2 separate regions of the Homo sapiens genome follow, and region 1 is linked to region 2. Evidence: promoter capture Hi-C in 16 types of primary human blood cells and fetal thymus (Javierre and others, 2016). All regions are on one chromosome and are shown on one strand. Each heading gives the region's core, a stretch centred on a gene start or on the middle of the fragment in contact. The rest is flanking DNA. Distances are from core to core; before and after follow the strand shown. Region 1 holds the start of TGFBR3 (transforming growth factor beta receptor 3). Region 2 holds the start of HFM1 (helicase for meiosis 1).

Evidence for each region. The method cuts DNA at HindIII sites, captures the fragments that hold promoters and counts their contacts. A CHiCAGO score of 5 or more calls a contact.
Region 1: a contact is called between a fragment that was not itself captured here and the fragment with the promoter of HFM1 in region 2, in 1 of 17 cell types (monocytes). The highest score is 5.0, in monocytes.

What each region holds. Positions count from the first base shown.
Region 1 is chr1:91,883,206-91,889,129 of GRCh38, reverse strand. TGFBR3 (transforming growth factor beta receptor 3) reads left to right here and starts at 2,979. Exons shown (of 17, transcript NM_003243.5): 1 at 2,979-3,252. RefSeq lists silencers at 2,713-2,852, 3,203-3,282, 3,293-3,502 and enhancers at 2,645-3,407, 3,408-4,171. The HindIII fragment of the contact is 8,259 bases long and covers 1-5,924 here.
Region 2 is chr1:91,401,281-91,406,942 of GRCh38, reverse strand. HFM1 (helicase for meiosis 1) reads left to right here and starts at 2,106. Exons shown (of 39, transcript NM_001017975.6): 1 at 2,106-2,145. RefSeq lists a silencer at 2,132-2,511. The HindIII fragment of the contact is 14,376 bases long and covers 1-5,662 here.

The sequences.
Region 1 (5,924 bases), core at 2,605-5,104, 480 kb before region 2:
GTGGATCACTTGAGGTCAGGAGTTCGAGAGCAGCCTGGCCAACATGGTATGAAACCCCGTCTCTACTAAAAATACAAAAATTAGCCAGGCATGGTGGTGCGTGCTTGTCAATCCCAGCTACTCAGGAGGCTGAGGCAGGAGAATTGCTTGAGCCCAGGAGGCAGAGGTTGCAGTGAGCTGAGATTGCGCCACTGCACTCCAGCCTCGGCAGCAGAGCGAGACTCTGTCTCAAAACAAAAACAAACAAACAAAAAAGAATTCAGTACCCACGCTGGCTCAGATGTTGATGGTTACTGTTGTGAATCTGGCTCTACGGGGACCAGTCACTTCATCACTCTTTAAAGACAAGACACTCCTAAATTATCTACCAGGCCATTTTATTTAGAAGGCCTTAACATGATTGATACATTTAATTTAATTTTATTTTTTTGAGACAGAGTGTTGCTCTTGTCCAGGCTAGAGTGCAATGGCACCATCTCAGCTCACTGCAACCTCTGCCTCCTGGGTTCAAACGATTCTCTTGCCTCAGCCTCCCAAGTAGCTGGGATTACAGGTGCCCGCCACCATGCCTGGCTAATTTTTGTATTTTAGTTGAGATGGGGTTTCACCATGTTGGTCAGGCTGGTCTAGAACTCCTGACCTCAAGTGATCCACCCACCTCGGCTTCCCAAATTGCTGAGATTATAGGCATGAGCCACCTCACCTGGCCGATGCATTTAAATGTGGGATTAAATATTCACACCTAGTTCAAGTGTTCACATCTGTACTTGAAACTAAAACTTGTTAACAAGGCATAAATACTGTATTAGTCTGTTTTCATGCTGCTGATAAAGACATACCCGAGACTGGGCAATTTACAAAGGAAAGGTTTATTGGACTTACAGTTCCACATGGCTGGGGAGACCTCACAATCATGGCAGAAGGTAAGGAGGAGCAAGTCACATATCACGTGGATGGCAGCAGGCAGAGAGAGCTGGTACACGGAGACTCCTGTTTTTAAAGCCATCAGATCTCGTGAGACTTATTCACTATCATGAGAACAGCACAGGAAAAACTCATCCCCAAGATTCAATTACCTCCCATTGGGTTCCTCCTAGGACACATGGGGATTGTGGGACTTACAATTCGAGATGAGATTTGGGTGGGGACACAGCCAAACCATATCAAATACTGTTTAATTTGAGTCTAGGAGAAATCTTAAGGCCTTAAACTTAGACTTTATAAAAGCAGAGGCTAGCTCCATCTGGACTGTTTATTCCTTCAGAATATTATGCCTACTTGTATTCCCAATGCCTGACTCAGGGCTCTCCCATAGTCAGTGCTCAATGAATATTGGTAAGGAAAAAAATGGTTCAGTGAGGAGATTTTTGCAGTAATTCAGGTGACTGATGACATTTGACCTTTGTGAATGAATCTCCAATTCTGCAATTGGGTGGATTCTCTGCCTATAGGTACAAGAGGAAGAGGACGAGAAATATTTCCTGTTCTCTCAATAACTTTCCAAATAACATGTCATAAGAAGCCTCCTCATTCTACTCTCCAACATATTAAAAGCCTAGGATTGAGCCAGGTGCAGCGGCTAACGCCTCTAATCCCAGCACTTTGGGAGGCCAAGGCAGGCGAATCTCTTGAGCTCAGGAGTTTGAGACCAGCCTGGGCAACTAAGTGAGACCCCCGCCCTGCCAACCCCCTCTACAAAAAATACAAAAAGTTAGCTGGGCGTGGTGGCATTTGTCAGTAATCCCAGCTACTCAGGAGGCTGAGGTGGGAGAATCGCTTGAGCCTGAGAAGCGGAGGTTGTAGCGAGCTGAGATTGAGATTGTGCCACTGCACTCCAGCCTGGGCGACAGGGCGAGACTCCATCTCAAAAAAAAAAAAAAAAAAAAAAAAAAAGGCATAGGTCCATAGCCCTTTAGAACTGGAAGAAGCCTTCTAGGCCAAGCCCTTCATTTGAACTGAGCCTTGACGGGTATTAGCCGTTAGCCATTTGTGGAAGGTCGCACAGTAGTCAGGACTGGAAGTCTGGTCTTTGAAACCTGTCAGTCCACGGTCATTTCACCTGCCTGTTTGTAAAACAATGTCCTGTTACTTAAGTATACTTTTTAATAAGAAAAACTGGGTGTAAGCAAGAGTATCAGAGTGGTGTTCTGGTGCCAGCAGTTCAACTTCTGCAGCGTGTACTTCACAGGCACAGGTACTTAGGACGTCGCACAGGCACAGGTACTTAGGACGTTGCCCCGCCGAGACTGTCGTTCATATCGCGCCCACCTCCGGGTAACGCCGGTAATGCTGACCTAGCTCCATTATTTGTATTAATTTATTTAGCTAGCAGGGGGAACGGCTGGGTAATGCAGTCTCAGCTGCTGGAGGGGAAGAGGCAAGACTCCGCCGGCGCCCACCATCAGAGCGTGACAACAAGCGGGACCGGAGGTTGGGAAAAAGCACAGGGACAGAATGAATGTGTGCATGGGGGAGCTCTGCTGGGGAGAGGGCAAGAGGCTGTGATCAGATTATCTGAGGTTTCAGAACTTTTATATAAAGACCAAGGAACCAAATGAAAATCCAACTCTTCCAGGGAGCCCTGGAAAGTTCAAAGGACCTCGTTTGAGGGAGCGAGTCCCCGCAGCTCGTGCCCACGTCTCCCTCGCGCTTCCCCCAGGACAGGGGCCGCCCCAACCCGGGCACGCTGAGCCCGGCCGCGCCCCTAGCCCCTTCTCTCTCGGCCTCCTCGTCCCGAAGGGAAGCACAGGCTCGAGCAGCATTCGGGGCTCATCCATCAGCCGCGGAGGCAAAGGGGGAGGAGAGAGGAGGCGGGAGGCGGGAGGCGGGAGGAGGAGTTTCTGGGCGGCCGAGAGCCCCCGGTGGGGCCGGCGGAGGAGCGCCCTTCCCCCCGCGCGCTGATTGCTGTGGCGTCCTGCCCGTCCCCGCCCGCGTGTGTGCGAGGGAGGGCGAGTGCGCCGGGTCGGCCTGATGGGGGTAATCGAGGGTTTCGGGGACGCCGAGCGGCACTTTCCTCTTCCCAGCGAGTGAAGGAGGGCAGTCGGCGGCTCTCGCGCCCCGGCCACTTTCCCTGCGCGATTCCCGGAGCTCCCTGCAGGAGGTGAGAGTCCCCAGCGGGTCCGGATGGCGTAGTTTTGCCGCGGCGCAGCAGCTGCCGGAGCTCGCCGCCGCCGAGCGCTGGGCGGGGAAACTTGCCGCCGCTTTCCTCCAACTTGCTGCGGGTGGATCTCCGCTGGACACACCGCCTCCGAGGTACGTGCCGGCCCAGCCCCGCGGCGCTGCAGCCCGCCCGGGCTGTGGGCTCTGCAGGCTGCGCGGGTGCCCGTCGGCGCGGCGCGGGCTGCCAGTGCCTACTTACCGGCCAGGGTCGCTCCAGCCGCCAGGACCTCCGGCCTTGGGAGGGAGGCGCTGGTGGGGCGGTGTTTACCCTCCGGGGAGCAGGCACCGGTGGCCAGCGGTGCGTGGGCAGCGGCCGCACGGGGCAGGCAGTGCCCCCGGCGATGCGCAGTGCTGGGGAGGAATTCTCCACGCCCGCCCTCACTCTTCCTCTCCGCGGGTCCTTCTGACCCCTGCGGGGCGCGGCGGCCACTTCCCTCCGGGCGCGTGACAGCTTCGGTGGGAATGGTTTGTTGTGGGTTCGCAGTCAATTGCCGTGGCCCAGGCTGTGGCTCCCGGACTCGTGCACGGACGCGGTTTGCGTTCCCCGCTGGCCGCGCCCTCAGGGTGCCTTGCGGGCTGAGCCGCAAGCTGCAGCTCGGCCCCCCCCCGCCCCGGTTTATTTTGAAGGCTCTCTTCTTGTATTCATTTGGTTAGGACAAACTTGGAAATCTTGGACTGTCGCTAGAAGAATCTGCTTGCAGACTTGATCTTATTAGGGCATTTGCCCCGCTTTGCAGAATCGCATAGTGTCAGGAGCCGACGTGTCAAGCATGAATTACCTTGGCAAAGTAGAACTTAGTGGATTTGGTGTCCTCACGAAAAGCTGGAAGAAGAAAACCGTTCCATTTCCCTAGCTGTGAAGTGAGGATAGTAGTACTTGCCCCGTAAAGTTGCTGTGAGCATCTAATGATTTAATGTGTGTGAGGTGCTACAACAGTGCTTGGCACCGAGTAAGCACCGCACGGAGGTTAGCGCTGCTTGCCGCTAGCCCTGCGGTGGCAGGATAGGAGCGGCGAGGGCAGAGGATAGTAGGAGTGACAGGCTGTGCTGGGGAACCAGGCGTATTCTGAGTTTTATGTCCTTCCGAAGAAGTGAGCGGTTTGGGAGAAGTCTCCACAGGTAGTAAAAACACACGTCAAGACCGTTTCTTCTTCCTGAATGCAGAGTGCAAACAGTTACTTCAGTGTGAACTCAGTTGTTTCTTTTGGATAATAATAACAGCTAACGTTTTCTAAGCCCATACTGTGTGCACTTAATCCTCACAGCATCTCTATGGGAAAAGCACTATTAATAACCCTATTTTACAGATAAGACACTAGAGGTTAAGTTACTTGTCCAAGATCATACATAACTTTCTGTTAGTTCTGACTCCAAAGCTACCTTCCTTCCTCAGCGGAGAGCGGCAAGTGCAGGCCGATTTGTGTGTACATAGATTTGTGTGCATAGTCCATGCATCTTCTCCCATCTTTCAGCTTTCTATTTGAGCTGAACGCATATCTCTTGAAACACACATAAGGTATCTGTGATGAATTTAGGCGATTTTACATACTTATGAGGGTGCCCAATTAAAGTTCCTCTGAAACTGGCCCCAAATAATTATAAATAGAACTCTGACTTGTATTAATTAACATGGAAATTTTTTTTTTTTTTTGGTGACAGAGTCTCGCTCTGTCCCCAGGCTGCAGTGCAGTGGTGCGATCTCGGCTCACTGCAACCTCCACCTCCCGGGTTCAAGAGTTTCTCCTGACTCAGCCTCCAGAGTAGCTGGGACTACAGGCGCGCGCTACCACGCCCAGCTAACTTTTGTATTTTTAGTAGAGACGGCGTTTCACCATGTTGGCCAGGATGGTCTCGATTTCTTGACCTCGTGATCCACCTGCCTCGGCCTCCCAAAGTGCTGGGATTACAGGTGTGAGCCACCACGCCTGGCCAACATGGATCTTTATTCTTAATTTCTTTTATTAATTCTCCAGACATTGTTGATCACCATTACTTGGCTTCCTTAGGAAACAGCTTGGGGTTGGCACAGGAGGCAGGGAAATAATTCTTACCCCCTTAAGGGCTATTAACATGAAATTGATTTCATGCCATTGTGTCAGTTAAAGGATGTTGCTCTATTTCTTGCTGTTCTTTGCTTTTGGCTTTATTTCTGCATTGTTTAGTGTTTCAAGGCTTGAGCGTTTTTTTTTTTTGGCCCTTCAGTTTGACATTTGTCAACTTTAATTTTTCCTGTTTTGATGGAATCTGACCGTTACACGGCAGCTTTGCCTAACAACTGTTGATTCAGCTCATGTTTTTAAATATAAAAATCACCAACATAGTTTTGAATCCCAGCACTTCAAAGGCAACCCGTGGGGAGTTCATTGTTATTTTGAATATTAGTCAATAGGGGGAGCATAACACACTGTTGATATCTATAAGGCGCATAAACCCGTTTTTAGAGTATTAAACATATAGTTTGAAAGGGGAGGGCAAAATATCTAGCAAAATAACTAAGTTGCTTTTGGAGTTTATAATGGAGGACTAGATTTAATTTGAACTGATTAAGAATGACCTTGAGGACAGGGCCTGTATGTTGAATATATGTCAAGAACTCCATGGTGGCTGGACAGATAGATAAACACACATATAGTTTTTTTTCAATTTGTTTCCTTAAGTGGTGTGTAGGCCAGGCACAGTGGCTCACACCTGTAATTCCAACACTTTGGGAGGCTGAGGTAGGAGGATCACTTGGCCAAGGAGTTCGAGACCAGCCTGGGTAACAT
Region 2 (5,662 bases), core at 857-3,356:
GGAGCCTGTCTTGCTAAGCTGGAACTTGGGAGTCTTGGATAAAATACCACAGAGCCTTGCCTTTCTTACCAAATTTTTGTATCTCTTTCTTGAAAAGATGTTTCTTCTTTTGCTGTTTGCCCTTAGGATCATTTCCAGAGGGTCTGAGTCATTTTTCTAGAATTTTCACCAGTTTCACTGAGAAGTGAGGTAGCAAAGCTCTTTATGCAGTCATGCCAGAAGTTGACCGGGAAGACTATATTTCAAATGTTAGTTATGTTATTCAATTTGGAGGATTGCTTATGACATTGTTGCACTGGTTGTAAAATTAAATCTTTAGGATTAAAATGTTTTCTTGAGAAATGTGGCAACATTACTAAAAACCATGGTAATCCCTCCCCCCAAAATGGGATTTTTAGTAACTTTATCACTGTCCTGAGGCTTCCTTTTAAAAACTGCAGCTTTGACATTTTTATTACATTATTTTAAGAGAAAGTAAGGCTCTATAGATTCCACATGCATTCTTGAATAAATGAGTGAGTGAATGAATGAATGTTTTTGTTTATGAACATGGTGGCCATTTGCTACTGTGTGCTTTGACAGTAAGACTCCCCTGTACCTGCCTGTTGCTGAATTCTACAATTCTATCACTCAAACCCTATCTTAGTTCAAGCTGCTATAACAAATTACCATAGGCTGGGTGGCTTAAACAACAAACATTTGTCACAATTTTGGTGCCTGAGAAGTCCAAGATCACAGTGCAGGCAGATCCGGTATTTGGCGAGGGCCTCCTTCCTGGCTTGCAGATACCGTCCTCCTGTATCCTCACATGGTAGGAAAAGAGCGAGCTAACTCTCTGGCCTCTTAAAAGGGCACAATCCTACTCATGAAGGCTCTACCCTTTTGAGTTAATTACCTCACAAAAGTCCCACGTTCAAATATCATCACATCGGGGGTTAGAATTCAATGTATGAATTTCAACACATTGAGGGGTTCACTATAACAAATGCACTGTTTCGTTATTTTCCTCTATGCAGTCTATGGAAAGTAACTTTCCTCTCCAGTATTTTTGAGAGGAATGATAATTCAACCTTTCTATTAAGAATAGTTTATGCAGTCAAAATGTTATTTTCTCCAAGAGACAAAGACTTGTTATTTTATCAGTATCCAAATAACTGGCTCACCCAATTACTGGAATAATTTTACATTTCAGAGAAGGTGAAAGAAATTAATATTCATGAGCATTTACTGTGTGGTAGGACTACTGCAAATATTATTTTATTTAACCCTTGCAGCAGTATCTAGGAGTTAGAGCTTATGAGTATCACTGAGGATGCAGAATTAAGACTTAAAGGTTGGGTCTTTTCCAAGGTCATATAGCTAATGAACAGTAGAACTGCAAGAAAAAAGAGAACAGGAATAGGGCAGTCAGACAGCAGTAGGTTGGCCCTAGATGTCACAGGTGGGGGTTTCCAAAGGAAAGATAAATGTCTCTGTAAGAAAAGCATCATTGATTCGTTGCTATTTTATCATCTACAAAACATTCCCTGCCAAATCTTCAGAGGACAATTCTAAAGAAACTTAAAAGGATAATTTATAGTTTGTTCATGTTTACAGCCTAAGAACACATTATTGCCCTGTTTTTATAAATTCATGTTGGCTAAACACATTTAAATATCATTGTGTTTTAGAATATTTATTTCTGAAATTTAACTTTATTTCTGAATCAAGTTCCCCAGTAATACCGACCTCATGAGTGCCACTGTGATATTTTATAAATAATATAGGTAAAACACTTTTTAGGTACGAAGAGACCGGAAGTCCCAGAGCTGAGGCCTGGCTAACTTTGATGAGAAAGGCAGGTTGGGGTATGTTTGTGGAGTGGTGGTTGTGGGGGTAGAGAAGCAGGTTAGCTTAGGGAAAGGGTACCATTTAGTAGACCCTTAGAACCCAGGATTAGGAGCTGTATTTAAAGAGAATAGACACAGTAAACTGCAAGAGATATATTCAAAACCAGTTATAAACTTTCGGAGAAAAAAAGGTAGGAAGGGAGAGGTTGGGGGCTTGGGCGATCCATTGCTTGGAGCTCGGCTTAGCCAGGCTTGGCGGTCCTCAGAGGGGCTGATAAATCGGCGCTCGACTGGCCTAGGAGCTGTCCGCAGGGAGGTGAGGAGAGGGGCCCGGACGCCCGCGGGGAAGGTGGGGACGGGGGCCCGACGCCCGCGGGGAAGTGGGGACCCAGCCGAGCCGTCCGGGCAGCGGTCGATCTCTAGAGCCGTCTGCCGGGCAGGCAGCGGACGGGCGCGGCGAGTTGTTGGTCACCAGGCGTCTCCAGGCCGCCGGCCCGCGCCAGCGCCTCAGCCGCATTTCCAGTCAGAAAGCGGTGAGGCCTGCGGCGCGCTCGGGCGCAGGGCGGGCCCAGCTCCCCGCGAGGTGGGACCGGCTGGGCGTCCGGCCCGCCCCTAAAGTCGGCTGATTGGTGTTCGGTTCCTGTGTCTTGTGTTCCGGTGTGTGGCGCCCCCTGAGCGAGCGCTGGGGGGGACGTACCCATCTGTCTGAGCCGCGGGTTTCACAGCGGTGGGAGGAAACGGGACCCGGGGGGTGGAGTGACGCGCCCCAGCGCCCCGTTCTTGTGCCACTCTCGGGGCCCTAAGGCCTCTGCCTTGGATTTAGGATATTCTCCTTAGGAAATCCACAGAGCTGTTATTTTGCTTTAGGTGCTGATTCGGTCCCCAGCCGGACCCTTCCAGCCAGCCCTGTTGGTGCCTGGGGAGAGGGGGTGAGATCTGGGGCTCCGACAATTGTATGGTCCTTTCCCAGGCCGAGCCTCGGAGTAATTTGTTCCCGTTGATTTTTCCTTCTTTGTCAGATTCTCTGCAGTTATTTGTGACGGTCGGTTATTCCCGTAAATGTTGGTCCCTACTTCTTCCTTAACTCACAAAAATTTCTAGCAAATCAATAATTTTTATCTGAGTTTCTGTACTTTTAAAATAAGGAGTATGTTTCTGAGTAAAAATTGTAAGAAGTAATAGGCCTGCAATTTTATACAATAAGTTTATACAATAATTGTATACAATAATTTTATACAATAAGTAAAGATTACAGAAGACAAAATGGTGAATTGTCATTAATATAACTAAAGATTAATTGTATCTAGTTGTATTAATATTTAACTAGAGATTGTCATTAATATAACTAGAGAAGGTCGGCACCGCAAATTATGTAGACTCAAAAATAGCTTAAGTATTTTAACAGTGATTATAGCAGAGCAGACACTTAAAACTACCTGGGATGATATTGTTTATTGTGTTTGGCAATCTAATTTTGTGCCACGTGCTGAAACTAAAACTTTAATAATAAATAATAGGAACTTAAAAAATCTGAATCTAAACCTAGAACTTTAATTAATTTAAAATAGCATCCCCTCACATCACAAACTCATACTGAACTGTAGCAAGGTCCCTTTTAGGACCTGTGTTTCTTTTTTAAAAAAAGATTTACATAATGAAAGTGCCAAATTCATCATCTTTTAGAACCTTCATGATTTTATTTACATAAATCCTGAACTAGAAAAAAATTTCACATTTTTTAACTGAACGTTGAAGATTGGGGCTCAAATTTTAAGTTTCTAAATTAACAGAAAATTATTTTTATTTGACACTATTTTTATAAACTGGTTCTTGCTAATGCATTTATTCCACAATGCATTCTTATGGACCATTTACTGTGTGCCAGGCACTATTCTGGGTTATTGGAACACATTAATGAGCAAAAAGTCCCTGCTTGCTCTAAAGGGAGAAACATAATAAACAACTAAGCATATACTATAATGTTAGTTATCAGTTCATGCTATGAAGAAAAATAATGCGGAATGAGAGGATGCAGTTTTAGATAAGGGGTGTTTTTTCACAGGAGTATATAAGAACTAAAATATGTACATGATATTTTTATTCTGAACCCAAACAAGTTATATTCTTGTATGCTAGAACTAGAAATCAAAAATTCTTTTGAAAATATTTGCTGTTTGTATAGGAGGTTTTTGTCAGTTTATGCAACGCTTTTCTTCCCAAATGTTTTAAATTTGTAGTTTTGTTGTCTATTTGTAGTTGCTTTAGGAAGAAAGTATTCAAGTGTATAAATGTTAGCCTTAAGATTTTTGACTTAAATTCTGAGGTAGCAAAGCCATATGAAACTGGTCTGGTGAGGTTTATTTTAGGAAAAGTTTCTTTTGTTTGAACATAGTTTTCCTAAAACTAGAAAGGGAACATTTTATTTGTTACTTTTTGGGCAATATAAAAACATGATTAACATTTTCATTTATACTTTTTCAGATAATTGTTTTCAAGTTCTGAAATTGTTTACTTAAAGCTGTTAAAGACTTCGCATATTTCTGAATGACTCCCTCTACCTCCTGCCCTATTATCCTAGGCTTCTATTTTTCGTATAGTCAAATTGTTTTAGACATTTATAGAACCACACTAGTTTGTTTCATTTTTACTACTTGTTTTTGTTGGTAACTGATTAATAGATAGAGAAAAATGAAGAGGGCAATTATATTAAACAGATGGAAGGGGGAAGAACCCAATAACGAAAACAGTGAAAAACCCCACAATATTCTATATCAGTAAGAACAGCCCTGAAGTATATATACAGGTTTAGTTCTCATACAGTAGCATTTGTCAAGTGTTGTATGTGGAAACATTCTCCCTTCCCCATATCACTCCCACTTGTATCTCATCCCCACATCAAGGAGGATTCAAAATTGGAGAGACATAATCTGACTTGGTAATGCGTATTTCTCCACTAGATGGCATTAATAGAATTTCTTTGATTGTAGTTTCTATCTTGAGGACAAATTTACAATGTATTAACTAAAACAGAAGAAACAGAAATGTGATTTATGTTTTACAGTTTGTTCGTCTGATTTTATGGTTTGTCATATAGAATGTTCTATGATGTTTAAGAATTTAGAAAAAAATAGGATATGCAGGGAAAAATAATTCTAATGGGAGCAATGTATGTATCTAGAGACTAGTTTTTTTTTTTAATCACATTTGCATCTTTGTTCAGCCCCAGATTTTTGTTATGTTCAAAGGTGGCCAATGCTGAATGTTTTTATCCTTTATGTTTAGATAATATCTCTGAGTGCAAAAATTATCTTTTAAAAAAGAATGTAAACGTGTGTAGTATATGCATTAACTCATATAAATAAATATGCATATGTATGTTAAACTTGTAATTTTTTTATTTTGAAAAAGTTCAAACCTATGAAAAAATATTATAATGAACCCCATGTACCTATTACATAGCTTTAGCTTTGATCAACTCATTGTCAATATTATTTCAATACTCCTTCATCTCTCCCCTTTATTTTGAAGCAAATCCCTGCATATGTACATAGTATATTGTTAGAGGTGCACACATTCACAATAAAATGTGCTGTCCTAACTTGAAAATAATGGTGTGAACAAAGTATTAAGAGCCCAAGAAGACTGATTAATTCTGCCTTGAGGAAGAAGACAAATTCAGAAAAGCCTTTGAAGAAGAAATGACATTTGACCTATAACTTGAAGGATGGTTAGGAATTTGCCAGTTGGAGAATGGCAGAAAACACATTCCAAGCATTGGAGCACTATGAAGAGAAGGGAGCAAGTGTGAATCCATGAATGAATGGAAAACAGAG